Regions from separate parts of the Homo sapiens genome. Here region 2 is linked to region 1. Evidence: promoter capture Hi-C in human tissues and cell types (Jung and others, 2019). All regions are on one chromosome and are shown on one strand. Each heading gives the region's core, a stretch centred on a gene start or on the middle of the fragment in contact. The rest is flanking DNA. Distances are from core to core; before and after follow the strand shown.

Region 1 (6,906 bases), core at 3,759-6,258:
GGCTGTAGTGCAGTGGCGCGATCTCGGCTCACCGCAGCCTCTGCCTCCTGGGTTCTAGTGATTCTCCTGCCTCAGCCACCTGAGTAGCTGGGATTACAGGCATGCGCCACCATGCCCGGGTATTTTTGTATTTTTAGTAGAGATGGGGTTTCTCCATGTTGGTCAGGCTGGTCTCGAACTCCCGACCTGAGGTGATCCACCTGCCTCGGCCTCCCAAAGTGCTGGGATTACAGACGTGAGCCACCGCGTCCAGCTATGATTTATTGTTTTTAGAATGGTAGCATAGTACTTTTTTCATATAGAAGCCCATAATTTATTTAACCAATCCTCCATTACTGAACATCTAATTGTTTCTGATTTTCCCCTATTTTAAATCATGCTGTATTGAGCATTCCTGACTTCTCCACCCCTTCTGGATTAGGTCAAAGCAAACCTGAGACATCAAATCATTTCATCCACAAATATAAGTTTATAATTTTTATTTATTTTTTTTTTGAGAAAGAGTTCTGCTCTTGTCGCCCAGGCTAGAGTGCAATGGTGCGATCTCAGCTCACTGTAATCTCTGTCTCCTAGGATCAAGTGATTCTCCTGCCTCAGCCTCCTGAGTGGCTGGGATAACCGGTGCCTGCCACCATGCCCGGCTAATTTTTGTATTTTTAGTAGAGACAGATTTTCACCGTGTTGGCCGGGACTCCTGACCTCAGGTGATCCACCTGACTCAGCCTCCCAAAGTGCTGGGATTGTAGGCATGAGCCACTGCGCCCAGCCAAGTTAAAAAAAGTTTTTAAAATAGAGATGGGGTCTTGCTATGTTGCCTTGGCCTCAATCGATGCCCCTGCCTCGGCCTCCCAAAGTGCTGGGATTACAGATGTGAGCCACCTCACCTGGCATTCAAATTTTTATATTATAGCCAGGCGCAGTGGCTCACGCCTGTAATCCCAACATTTTGGGAGGCCAAGGCAAGTGGATCACCTGAGGTTGGGAGTTTGAGACCAGCCTGACCAACATGGAGAAACCCTGTCTCTACTAAAAATACAAAATTAGGTGGGTGTGGTAGCACACGCCTGTAATTCCAGCTACTCGGAAGGCTGAGGGAGGAGAATCGCTTGAACCCAGGAGGCGGAGGTTGCAGTGAGCCAAGATTGCGCCATTGCACTCCAGCCTGGGCAACAAGAGCAAAATTCCATCTCAAAAAAAAAATTATATTATAAAGCCTGTTAATCTTCTGGTCTTTCGTCTTCACTTTTAATTTTATTTATATTTTGATTAGACACGGTATTCACATGGTTCAAGATTCAAGAGAACAAAAGGATATGCTGAAAAATGCGTTTCCCACCCTGTTCTCCAGCTCCAGTTTCCTTCCTGGGAAACAACTCGTGTTATCAGCGCGTGCACATATAAAAGCAAATTGTGTGTCTCTGTGCTTTTTCCATTTAAGTACAATTGATAAACGACTTGAACACGGCTCTGCGTCTAGGTTTTATTACTAAACAACCTGTCCTGGGGAGCGTTCTGTAAGGAGAATCCTAGTTATTTTTGATAGCCATATGCATTCCATTGCAGGGCATACAATAATCATTCATTTATCCCATCTCTATTGGTGGACATTTAGGTTGTCTCCAGCTATTAGATTGGTGCAAAAGTCATTGTGGTTTTGGCTCAATGTTGCAGCGATGCAGTGGAAAGCCTTGTGTATTCCTTTCACTTACGTGTGAGCATTATCTGTAGGATAAATTTCTGGAAGTGCCAAGTCAAACAGGACATGTGTTTATATGTTTGATAAATACTGCCCAAATATTCTCTTTTGAGGTCGAGTCAGTCTACACACCAACCAGCAATGCAGGGGGTTGCCTGTTTTCCTCCCACCCTTGCGAATAGTGTGTTACCAAACTTTTTTTTTTTTTTTTGAGACAGGGACTCACTCTATCGCTCTGGCTGGAGTGCAGTGACACGATCATGGCTCACTGCAGCCTTGACTTTTCAGGCTCAAGCAATCCTCCCACCTCATTCTTCCAAGTAGCTGGGACTACAGGCACGTGCCACCACGCCTGGCTAATTTTTTTTTTTTGGTAGAGACAGGGTTTTGCCACGTGGCCCAGGCTGGTCTCGAACACCTGGTTTTAAGTGATTCTCCTGCCTCAGCCTCCCAAAGTGCTGGAATTACAGACATGAGCCACTGTGCCTGACCTACCAAACTGCTTTTTATCTTTGCTGATCTGGTAAGTGAAGAATAGTATCTTTTGTAGTTATAATTTTCATTTTCTTAATAAGTGAGTTATTGAACATCTTTTTACATGTTTATGAGCCCATGAATTTTCTTTCTGCAGGAGCAAGCACTGTCTCTTCATCTTTTTTTTCACAGGGGGTGGACAGAGTCTCTCTCTGTTACCCAGGCTGGAGTGTAGTGGCGCAATCTCGGCTCACTGCAACCTCCACCTCCCGGGTTCAAGCGATTCTCCTGCCTCAACCTCCCCAGTAGCTGGGATTACAGGCACCCACCACCATGCCCACCCAATTTTTGTATTTTTAGTAGAGACAGGGTTTCACTGCATTGGCCAGGCTGGTCTCGAACTCCTGACCTCGTAATCTGCCTGCCTTGGCCTCCCAAAGTGCTGGGATTACAAGCATGAGCCACCACGCCCAGCCCACTTAGGCTATTTCTGATTTTCCAGTATTATAAGTAATACTGCAGTGAAAAGCCTTGCATATAAATATTCTATTTCCTTAGGCTAAATTTATTTATTTTTTTGAGACAGTCTTGCTCTGTAGTCGAGGCTGGAGTGCAGTCATGTGATCTCAGCTCACTGAAGCCTCTGCCTCCCAGGTTCAAGCGATTCTCGTGCCTCAGCCTCCCAAGTAGGTGGGACCACAGGCATGCGCCACCACACCTGGCTGATTTTTGTGTTTTAGTACAGACACAGTTTCACCAGGTTGCCCAGGCTGGCCTTGAATTCCCGACCTCAAGTGATCCACCTGCCTTACAGGCATGAGCCACCACGCCCAGCCTCTTCAGGCTAAATTTCTGAAAGTGATCTTCATTCCTAACCCCAAACTGCCCTCCAGAAAGCTGGGTTGCACTTCTGCCACAGCAGGATCTTTACTCCTCTTAAAATCTCCGCGGAGCCTGGGTGGGAGAGGCAGAGCTCCGGGGGGAAGATTCTCTCCTGGCCTGATGTAGTGTTTTCCTTGGCTTGTCAGACATGGAGGAGATTATGCCAGATATGATAGTGGAGAGAGTCAGACATGCATGAGACTGGAGAGAGAAAAAAAACAAAATAGCCTCTGAGGTCTCACTCACAGCCTACTTACTCTTACTTTACACACAATTCTATATTCCGATATGTTTGTGACCTGGTTTTTAAGAGTACAGAGCAAATTAGGAAGGAGAAGCAAGGCTGCTACCTAGAGGTACCCTGGTCCTCCATGAAGTTTCCAAAAGAAGAGCAAGTGCAAGTAAAATAATAAAACACAGCCAGTCACAAAGCCATCAATTTGGACCATGCAGTGCAAGGCTTTAACTGTCCCAAGGATTCCAATCATGGATAAGGAAGAGCTTAAATTTGATTATAAATCTGAAAGTCTGGAAGTCAGCTTGAATATTGTGGTAGACATAATCATATCCTCCTCCTCAAAAGATGCCCTGGTTCTAATGCCCAGAATCTGTGAATATGTTATGCTACCCCACGAAGGGAAATTACAGTTGCAGGTGGAATTCAAGTTGCCAATCCATTGATTTAAAATAGAAAGATTACCCTGGATTATCTGGGTAGGCCCGATGTAATCACAAAGATGCTCACCAGTGGAAGCAAGAGGCAGAACAGTTGGTGTCAGAGTGACAGATTGTGAGAGACTGGTGGGCCACTGCTGGCTTTGAAGATGGATGGGGCCACCAGCCAAGGAATGTGGGCAGCTTCTAGAAGCCAGAAAAGCCAAAGAAACAGGTTCCCTTCCAGCCTCAAGAAAGCTGTATCCCTCAACCCCCTTGCTTTTAGTCCAGCGAGACCCATTTTGGACTTCTGATTTTACAAAACTTGTAAGATAGTAAATTAGTGTTGTTTTATGTTTGTGTTACGGCAGCCACAGGGAACCAATACAAATATTATCTGGTACCGCCCATTAAAGCTGCTCAGAGACAGGGAGCCCCACCCTGGCGGGGCTCCGGTGGCTGCACAACCTCTGCAAGCAGGATCAAGATGAGAGGCGCAGGCCAGGTGTGGTGGCTCACTCCTGTAATCTCAGCACTTTGGGAGGCCAAGGCGGGCGGATCACTTGAGGTCAGGAGTTCGAGACGAGCCTTACATGGTGAAACCCTGTCTCTACTAAAACTCCAAAAATTAACCAGGCGTGGTGGCGTGCACCTGTAGTCCCAGCTACTCGGGAGGCTGAGGCAGGAGAATCGCTTGAACCCAGGAGGAGGAAGTTGCAGTGAGCGGAGAAAGTGCCACTGCACTCCAGCGTGAGCGACAGAGCGAGACTCTGTCTCAAAAACAAATAAAGGAAAAAGAAAAAAATGAGAAGCGCGTGTTCCCGACTCCGGTGCTTTTTCGCAAGGTCGTGCTACTGCGCCTTCTGAACTACGAGTCCCAGGTACCAAGAAAGTTGAATTGCGTGCTGTGGCGGGTCCGTTATCTGCACCACCCGTCTGCACGGGATGCGCTGGCTTCCTGCCCCGGATGCACAAGGCTCCCTGCGGGACACTCAGGGCGAGGCTCTGAGCCCCTCCCCCGCGGCAGATGCCGTCCAGATGTGGCCGGCGGGTCCCGCGGGCTGCGGCGACAGGGACCCCGTCGGGGGCAGCAGGAGCCCTGGTGCATCCCAGGCCCCGGGGGGAAGGCCGGGCCGTCGGAGGAGCGGAGGAGCCCTGGGGGGCTCCCGGGAAGCCGCGGGCGGACGGGGGAGGAGCCCGGGCGGAGCTGCGGGCGGGCGGCCCGCTAGGGGTGAATCGGGTGGAGTAGTGGTCGGGTCCGGTTACTTCCCTTTAAAAAGACGGGAAAGGAGGAGTCCAGTGCTGGAGGGGCAGGGACGGCGGCGGCGCAGCTCGGAACCCGCCAGGGTCCAGGGTCCAGGTTCCAGCGCCCGGCGGCCCAGGCAAGTGGGGCGGGAGGGCGGGGGCTGCGGGCGCGGGTAGGGGTCGTGGGGCAGTTGGGTGCGCGGGAACCGAGGGAGCTGCAGACCCAGCGCTTGGCGCGTGCGGAGCTGGACTTCTGCGGCCGCGACGCCCCTCTTCCCAGATGGGTAAACTGAGGGCCAGGGAAAGCGAAGAATTCTTTTGGCCGAGCTCCCACTACGATCTCGCGGTCAAGTGGGTCCCCAGCGGGCCTCGCAGGGGTCGGAGGGGCTCCCATCTGGGGAGGGGGCCCCAGGGTGGGCGAGGGCGACGGGAGCCTGGGGAGGACGGACGGGGAGGGCGGCGGAGCGGAGCTAAGCTGCGGCGGGTGGACCCGGCTCGGCCGCGGCCACTCTGTCCCTGGTGGGTGGGGCGCGGCCGAAGGCAAAGGGCGAACCCGGCCCGCCTGTGGGGTCTCTGGCCAACACTGGGCTCAGAGGCCCTTTCTTTAACCTTAGATCTCGCTCCTCGGTCTAAAGCCTCCGCCGCAGCTCTCAGTGAAGAGGAAGGGGAACTCTAGGTGCTCAACGCCCGCGTTACAGTCGCGTTCTCCCTCGCTCCTACAACCCGGCCAAGATGCCGGGGCATGGATGGGGACCGAGGTTTGGGGGTTGTGGAGCCTATTCCACGCCCTCCCTGGTGAGCAACTGAGACAGATCCAGGGCCCCATTGCAATCCACTCTTGGTCTGGGAAAAGGTCCCCTAAACAGGGCCAATGGGATCCTTTCCCCAAATGACTCCAGAACGCACCCCCCCCCCCCAGCAGTGCGGTGGGCAGGGACGGCCCAGGTGGGCTATGTCCTGGGGTTTTGTGACTGGATCCCCACTCCTCCCCCACCTCAGCCCCTGGACTGCAACCCACCAGGCCGTGTTCGGGGGTGGTCAGAGCCCTGGTCTCAGCCAGACCTGAGGTCTGATGTGGCTTCATCCCTGAGTCTCTAAACGCCCTGGCCTTACTGGGCCTCAGTTAATTCACCTGTGAAAGGGGAGGCTTGGACCAGAGGGCCCCTCAGGGTATGTGTTTTGTGGAGGGGAGGTGGGCGTGTGGGGTAGGGGTGACCAGGAGGAAGTGGGGACAGCCTCTGTCCCACAGGAAGGCTGGCTAGCCCCAGTGGGTATGGGGGAGCTGGGCAGGGAAGAGGGTGGACTCCCCTCTCCCTGTGGGAGGGTGTGCTGGGCCCATGAGGCCCTCATCCACTCTCAGCCACCTTCCTGTGGAGCCCTAGCCTCGAAGGCCACACTATGAGTGCAAGGAGGCCACCCACAGCGCTGCTCCCGCTTCACAGGTGGGGAAACCGGCCCAGTGTCTTGAGGCAGCCCAGCCGCCTGCCCTGTGCTTCCCCCAGAGCCTTCTGGGGAATGAGACCTTCGTTACACGCTGGCGCTCCTTACACCCCTACAGCCTTTAAGCTAAGGCCTCCAGCCCCATCGCTGTAAGAATTGTATGCTAGGCATTCTGAGGACATAGATGGGGGTCCCCATGTCGGAAGGAGCCAAGGTGTTGGAACTGGGTCCAGTTCCTGGGCTGGCTCTGGTGGGAGATCTGGAACCCTATGCTGGGGCTCCTGGACAGCCCTGGAGGCATGGCATGGACAGTGTGTCAGCCGCACACCGAGGCCCTGGGGTGTCCTTATTCACATAGGCTGGCAGCCATCTATCCCTAGCCCGGGCTTCACCCCGGGTGCCTGTCACTCCTGGCCCTACAGTGGTCCCAGTCACACCTTGGAGGCAAGATGTGGGTCCTCCACAGGCCTGTGTCTGGAAGCAGCCCCCAGCACTCCCTGGCTAACAAGTTCTAC
Region 2 (6,564 bases), core at 1,520-4,019, 330 kb before region 1:
GGGCCTGTTCTCCAGAGCACCAGCAGGAACAGGTGTAGCTGGAGGGCAAGGATGTTACTGGAAGCAGTTTGGACAAACCCAAAAAAGGTCCCTCACTATCACAGCAGTGTTCTTTGGGGAAGAAGGTAGAAATGAGGAATGAAGGGTATATTTTCACTTTTACTTTATACACTTAAAAAAAAAAAAAAAAACAGGGCCAGGTGCGGTGGCTCATGCTTGTAATCCCAGCACATTGGGAGGCCGAGGTGTGAGGCTTGCTTGAGCTCAGGAGCTCAAGACCAGCCTGGGAAACATAGTGAGACTCTGTCTCTACAAAAAAATTTTAAAAATTAGCTAGGCATGGTGCATGGTGGTGCACACCTGTAGTCCAGGTACTTGGAGGCTGAGGCCAAAGAATTGTCTGAGCCCAGGAGCTTAAGGCTTCCATGAGCTGTGACTGTGCCACTGCACTCCAGTCTGGGTGGCAGAGTAGGTCTTGTCTCAAAACAAAAATAATCAAAATAAATAAATATAAATAAAAACAAAAAAACAAGATTTTTGCAGAGATTCTTGTCTTAGTTTTTCCATTTCTGATGTTCCCATATTTTCTACAGGGAGCATATGTTGCTTTTGTAATCACAGAAGTGTAAGATAGTGGTATGGACTGAATTATGTTCACCAAGAAGTTCTAGCTTCATATGTATTTGTAGGTAAAGTCTTTAAAGAGGTAATTAAGTTAAAATGAGGTCCTTAGGGTGGGCCCTAATCCAGTAGGATGGCTGTCCTTATAAGAAGAGAAGATTAGGCAGGGCCAGGCACGGTGGCTCATGCCTGTAATCCCAGGACTTTGGGAGGCTGAGGCGGGCGGATCACTTGAGATCAGGAGTTGAGACCAGACTGACCACCTGGTGAAACCCCGTCTCTATTAAAAATTCAAAATTAGCCGGGTGTAGTGGTGCATGCCTGTAATCCCAGCTACTTGGGAGACTAAGGGAGGAGAATCGCTTGAACCCGGGAGGCAGAGGTTGCAGTGCGCCGAGATCACGCCATTACACTCCAGCCTGGGCAACAAGAGCAAAACTCTGCCTCAAAAAAATAAAAGGGAAGAGAAGATTAGGACACAGACATGCAAGAGGGAAAAATGTGAGGACACAAGGAGAAAATGGCCATCTGCAAGCCAAAGAGAGACACCTCAGAATAAATCAGCTCTGCAGACACCTTGATTGTGAACTTCTGGACTCTAGAATTGTAAGAAGCTAAATGTCTACGGTTTAAGCCACCCAGTCTGTGGAACTTTTGTTATGGCAGCCTACCAAATTTGTTTGCAAATTACATTGCAAACAAATGCAATGGTCAGGAGTTTGGGACCAGCCTGGCCAACATGGTGAAACGCCCGCCTCGGCCTCCCAAAGTGCTGGGATTATAGGCACGAGCCACCGCGCCCGGCTGTCGGTCACTTTTTGGTGCGTGGCTAGAATTTGAGCTTCAGTCTGTGAGTCAGGGACCAAGCAGAGGATCCCACAAAGCAAAGAGTGAGGTGTCTCTCCTGCAAGCTGCCACCACCGCAGTCACACCAACAGGCTCAGAAAGCCCTGAGAGCAGTTCTCAGTGAGGAGTGGTGCCCAATAGAAAGCCTATATCCCCTGTTGGTGACAGTGGGGAAGAGAAAGGCCGGAGTCAGGGAAGTGGTGGCTCTTGGCCAGAAGAATATTCCAAAGAGCAGACGGCAGAACGTTCCATTTGGTGGCCCCTTGGGGCCCACCATATACCCAGGTGTTCTGACCCTGTTGTGGGTTCCAGACCCCTTTGGAAATCCAATGAGAATAAGGAACCACCCCCTAGAAAGACACAAACACACACACACACACACACACACACACATAGATTTGGACACTAATTCAGGGAGTTTGTGTCCTCCTTGAGCCAACATTCAGGTTCTCTAATTTCAAACCTCTGCTCTACTGAGAACCATAAAAAAGCAGTTTATGGAACTGTTCGACCTGGCTCCTGCCAGTGCAAAAACTGTTCACTGAGCAGAAGACGAGATGGGACTGAAAGGTAAACAGTCAGATGTAAACAAAGAGAAAGCCAGGAACCTTTACACAAACATTCCCGCAAAGCAGGAGGCTGCAGGCTCCATGTGGCTCTGAACACAGCTTTTCTGATAGCAGAGACTGAATTGGGCACAGAACATCTGCTTTGCGTAATGTGCTCTTTGCAGAGGCAGGCAACAGAACCTGTGGCCCCAGAAATGTTTCCCCTTGAGCTGAAGCTTATCAGAGAACAGAAAGATAGGTGGAACCACGTTCCAGTGTAGATGAAACTGACCAATATGATAAGAAAATGAAACTGTGAACATGTATGAGTAAGCCCCAGGGTTTTGTGTGGCCATCTTCAGGGACTCTTGTAGGCAGTGACGACATGGTAGGCTTGGGAAGCTCTCTGGGCTCACTCCTACATTCTCTGAACACTAGACTGTAAGTAGTAGAGAAGTAAGGGCTCTTGCCTATATATTGGATTATTGTTTTCTTTCTTTCTTTCTTCCCTCCTTCCTTCCTTCCTTCCTCTCTCTCTCTTTCTTTCTTTCTTTCTTTTTGAGATAGAGTCTTGCTCTGTCACCCAGGCTGGAGTGCAGTGGCGCAATCTTGGCTTGCTGCAACCTCCGCCTCCAGGGTTCAAGCAGATTCTCCTGCTTCAGCCTCCCAAGTAGCTGAGACTACAGGCACGCACCACCACACCTGGCTAATTTTTGTATTTTTAGTAGAGATGGGGTTTCACCATGTTGGCCAGGCTGGTCTTGAACTCCTGACCTCAAGTGGTCTGCCTGCCTCGGCCTCCCAAAGTGCCGGGATTACAGGTGTGAGCCACTGCACCCAGCTGCAAGCAGCTTTTTGATGACCTCCTATGGGAGATGAGATTTGTGAAGCTGACAGCATAGCACAGTTGTTAGGACACCAGACTGTGGACCCTCAGTTGGCTGACCTTGGTGGCTCAGATTCCAGCTCAGCCCTTTTCTTTCTGGGTAGCAATGGGCAAAGTGCTGAAGCACTTTCTGTGTAAATTTTCTCATCTGTAAAATGAGGATAACAAAAGCACAGTTGTGAGGACTAACACAGCTAAAGCACTTAGACAGCTGCATCTAATAGTGTAGCCATCAGCCACAGTACCTACTGAGCACTTGAAATGTGGCTTGTCTATCCCAGCTACTTGGGAGGCTGAGGCAAGGAGAATTGCTTGAACCTGGGAGGCGGAGGTTGCAGTGAGCTGAGATCGTAACAATGCGAGACTCCATCTCAAAAAAAAAAAAGAAAAAGTAAAACAAAAAGAAAACGTGGTTTGTCTAAACTGAGATGTACCCTGCGTGGTGCTCGCGCCTGTAATCCCAACACTTTGGGAGGCTGAGTCGGGAGGCCAGGCACAGTGGCTCACACCTGTAATCCCAACAGTTTGAGAAGCTGAGGCGGGAGGATCGCTTGAGCCCAGGAGTTTGTGACCAGCCTGGACAACATGGTGAGACCCTGTCTCTACAAAAAAAAAAAAAAAAATTTAAAAATTAGCCTGGTGTGGTGGCATGTGCCTGTAGTCTCAGCTACTCGGGAGGCTGAGGAAGGAGGACTGCTTGAGTTTAGAAGGTCAAAGCTGCAGTGAGCCATGATTGTGCCACTGCACTCCAGCCAGGGTGACAGAGTGAGACCCTGTCTCAAAAAAACAAAACAAACAAAAAAACCCTGAAATGTGATGTATGCATAAATTCACATCGGATTTTGAAGACTTCATACAAAAAAGGCCAGGTGCAATAGCTCATACCTGTAATCCCAGCACTTTGGGAGGCTGAGGTGGGTGGATTGTTTGAGTCCAGGAGTTTGAGACCAGCCTGGGCAACATCGTGAAACCCCATCTTTACAAAAAATACAAAACATTATCAGGGCCTGGTGGTACGCGCCTATAGTCCCAACTACTCGGGAGGCTGAGGTGGAAGGATCACCTGAGCCTAGGGGAGGTCAAGGATGTAGTGAGTTGTGATCGTGCCACACTCCAGTCTAGGCAACAGAGTGAGACCCTGTCTCAAAAAAAAGTAAAATAACTCCCTAATTATTGATTATATTGGGTTACATAGAATATATTGTAATACATAGAATATATTATTTGTTTGTTTGTTTTTGAGATGGAGTCTCACTCTGTTGCCCAGGCTGGAGTGTAGTGGCACCATCTCGGCTCACTGCAACCTCCACCTCCAGGCTGGAGTGTAGTGGCACCATCTCGGCTCACTGCAACCTCCACCTCCAGGCTTCAACCGGTTCTTCTGCCTCAGCCTCCTGAGTAGCTGGGATTACAGGCGTATGCCATCACGCCTGGCTAATTTTTGTATTTTTGGTAGAGACGGGCTTTCCCCATATTGGCCAGGCTGGTCTTGAACTTCTGACCTCAAGTGATCTGCCTGCCTCAGCCTCCCAAACTGCTGGGAGGACAGGAGTGAGCCACCACACTCAGTCTAAATAGAATATATTATTACAATTAATTTCACCAGTGGGTTTTTTGTTTTTACTTTTAAAAATGCAGCTACTAGAGTTTTTAAAACTACGCTCTTTTCTGCCATGGTGAAAAGTAAATTAATAAATTAAAAAACAACTACTAGGCCAGGCGCAGTGGCTCACGCCTGTAATCCTAGCACTTTGGGAGGCCGAGGCGGGCGGATCACCTGAGGTCTGGAGTTTGAGACCAGCCTGACCAACATGGAGAAACCCCATCTCCACTAAAAATACAAAATTAGCCGGGCATGGTGGCACATGCCTGTAATCCCAGCTACTCGGGAGGCTGAGGCAGGAGAGTCACTTGAACCCGGGAGGCGGAGGTTGCGGTGAGCCAAGATCACACTATTGCACTCCAGCCTGGGCAACAAGAGTGAAACTCCATCTCAAAAAAAACCCAAAAACAAACATTAACAACAACAACAAAACTACCTATGTGGCTTGCATTATGTGTTTATTGGACAGCAGCTGCTTAGAACAAGCCTGGTGTGGAGTAAGTCAGTGTAATTGTTAGCTGCTGTCAGTGTTCAGTGCCTGACACGTGGTAAGGGCTTATTGAAGAGCAGTTTTTTGGTTTTTGTTTTGTTTTGAAATGGAGTCTAGTTCTTTCACCCAGGCTGGAGTGCGGTGGTGCGATCTCAGCTCACTGCAACCTCCGCCTCCCAGGTTCAAGTGATTCTCATGCCTCAGCCTCCTGAGTAGCTGGGATTACAGGTGCTCCCCACCATGCCTGGCTAATTTTTGTATTTTTAGTAGAGACCGGGTTTCACCATGTTGGCCAGGCTGGTCTCAAACTACTGAACTCAGGCAATCTGCCTGCCTTAAACTCCCAAAGTGCTAGGATTATGAGCATGAGCAACCATGCCTGGCCTGTTTTTTTTTTTTTTCTTTTTTTGTGACAGGGTCTCACTTTGTCGTCCAGGCTGAATGAGTGTAGTGGTGTGATGTCAGCTCACTGCAGCCTAGATGTTCTGGGCTCACACAGTCCTCTCACCTCAGCCTTCTGAATAGCTCTGACTATAGGCATACACCACCATGTCCTGCTAAGTTTTCTACTTTTTTAGAGACGGGGTCTTGCTATGTTGCCCAGGCTGGTCGCAAACTCCTAGGCTCAAGCGATCCTCCTGCCTCAACTTCCCAAAGTGTTGGGATTACAGGTGGAGAGCCACTGTGCCTGGCCTTGAATGGCAGTTTTGAAGACTTCTCTCCATCCCCTCTCTTGCCTCTCTGCCTTGGCAATCCAACCTGGAAAGCATTGTCTGTTTCCTTCCCAGCTTGTCCTATTCACCGGCAGTGAGAGCCCTGTCTTTCCTTTGATCCTCCCAACTCCCAGTGCCTCTCCAGGGGTGCTGAGCCCCCCAGTGGATTTCCATGCTGGTGGGACTTTCTGGGTGTCCAGTTTCCCATCACCTCCCCTCTCCCACCAGCTCTGGGCCCGAGTACCTCTGCGTTCCCCCGGAGTCCACCCACCTGGGGTGTTGTGATCACTCTTTGCCATCGTCACTCTCGGGTTTTCTCCTTAGGCCCTGCTCTTCTGAGGCTTGATCTGTGATGCCGGGAGAGGTGGGACGCTGCCAGAAGGGGCTACTGGCAGGCTGCCAAGAGGCTGCCCACAGAGGCCTTTGCCCTGACAAATTCACCCCTGGGGCCCTGGGTCTGCCCTCCGCCTGGCAGCTGGTGGAGAGGAGAGCCAGGTCCCAGCTGTGGACTCAGACTAATCAATTGCTCAGGAGGCCAATATATACACCAGGTGGTAAGTTTCCAATGCATTTAGCAGGGTGAGACCGGTTTTTGTTTAGGAAAATATCTTGATAGCCACTTTTGTTGAGGAAGGGGAGGTGCTAAGGACATAGTTGAAGGAAGATGTTTAAACACAGGAGGAATCAAACGGCTTTACAGAGAACGTTAACCGGAACTTGGGGGCGAGGGACCCCAAAAGAGAAGAAGAAATGGAAAGATGGTCATAGAAATGAAGGGTGAAGGAGGGAGGAGGGAGGGAGAAAACAAAATGGCAAGGGCAGAGCCTGGGAGGTATGTGTCCACTGAGAATTTCACA

What was found. The method cuts DNA at HindIII sites, captures the fragments that hold promoters and counts their contacts. A contact is called where the count stands out against the background at its distance.
Region 2: a fragment that was not itself captured here is called in contact with the fragment with the promoter of ANPEP in region 1 in 1 of the 25 tissues and cell types used here (IMR-90 fibroblasts).

What each region holds. Positions count from the first base shown.
Region 1 is chr15:89,812,954-89,819,859 of GRCh38, reverse strand. ANPEP (alanyl aminopeptidase, membrane) reads left to right here and starts at 5,008. Exons shown (of 21, transcript NM_001150.3): 1 at 5,008-5,088. RefSeq lists cis regulatory regions at 4,625-4,627, 4,645-4,674, 4,673-4,676, 4,584-4,712, 4,964-4,969, promoters at 4,584-5,072, 3,918-5,072 and an enhancer at 4,940-5,439. The HindIII fragment of the contact is 19,993 bases long and covers 1-6,906 here.
Region 2 is chr15:90,145,024-90,151,587 of GRCh38, reverse strand. No RefSeq gene overlaps it. Among named protein-coding and RNA genes, the nearest start is that of IDH2, 46 kb to the right of the region's middle. RefSeq lists an enhancer at 2,190-2,399. The HindIII fragment of the contact is 6,132 bases long and covers 1-5,835 here.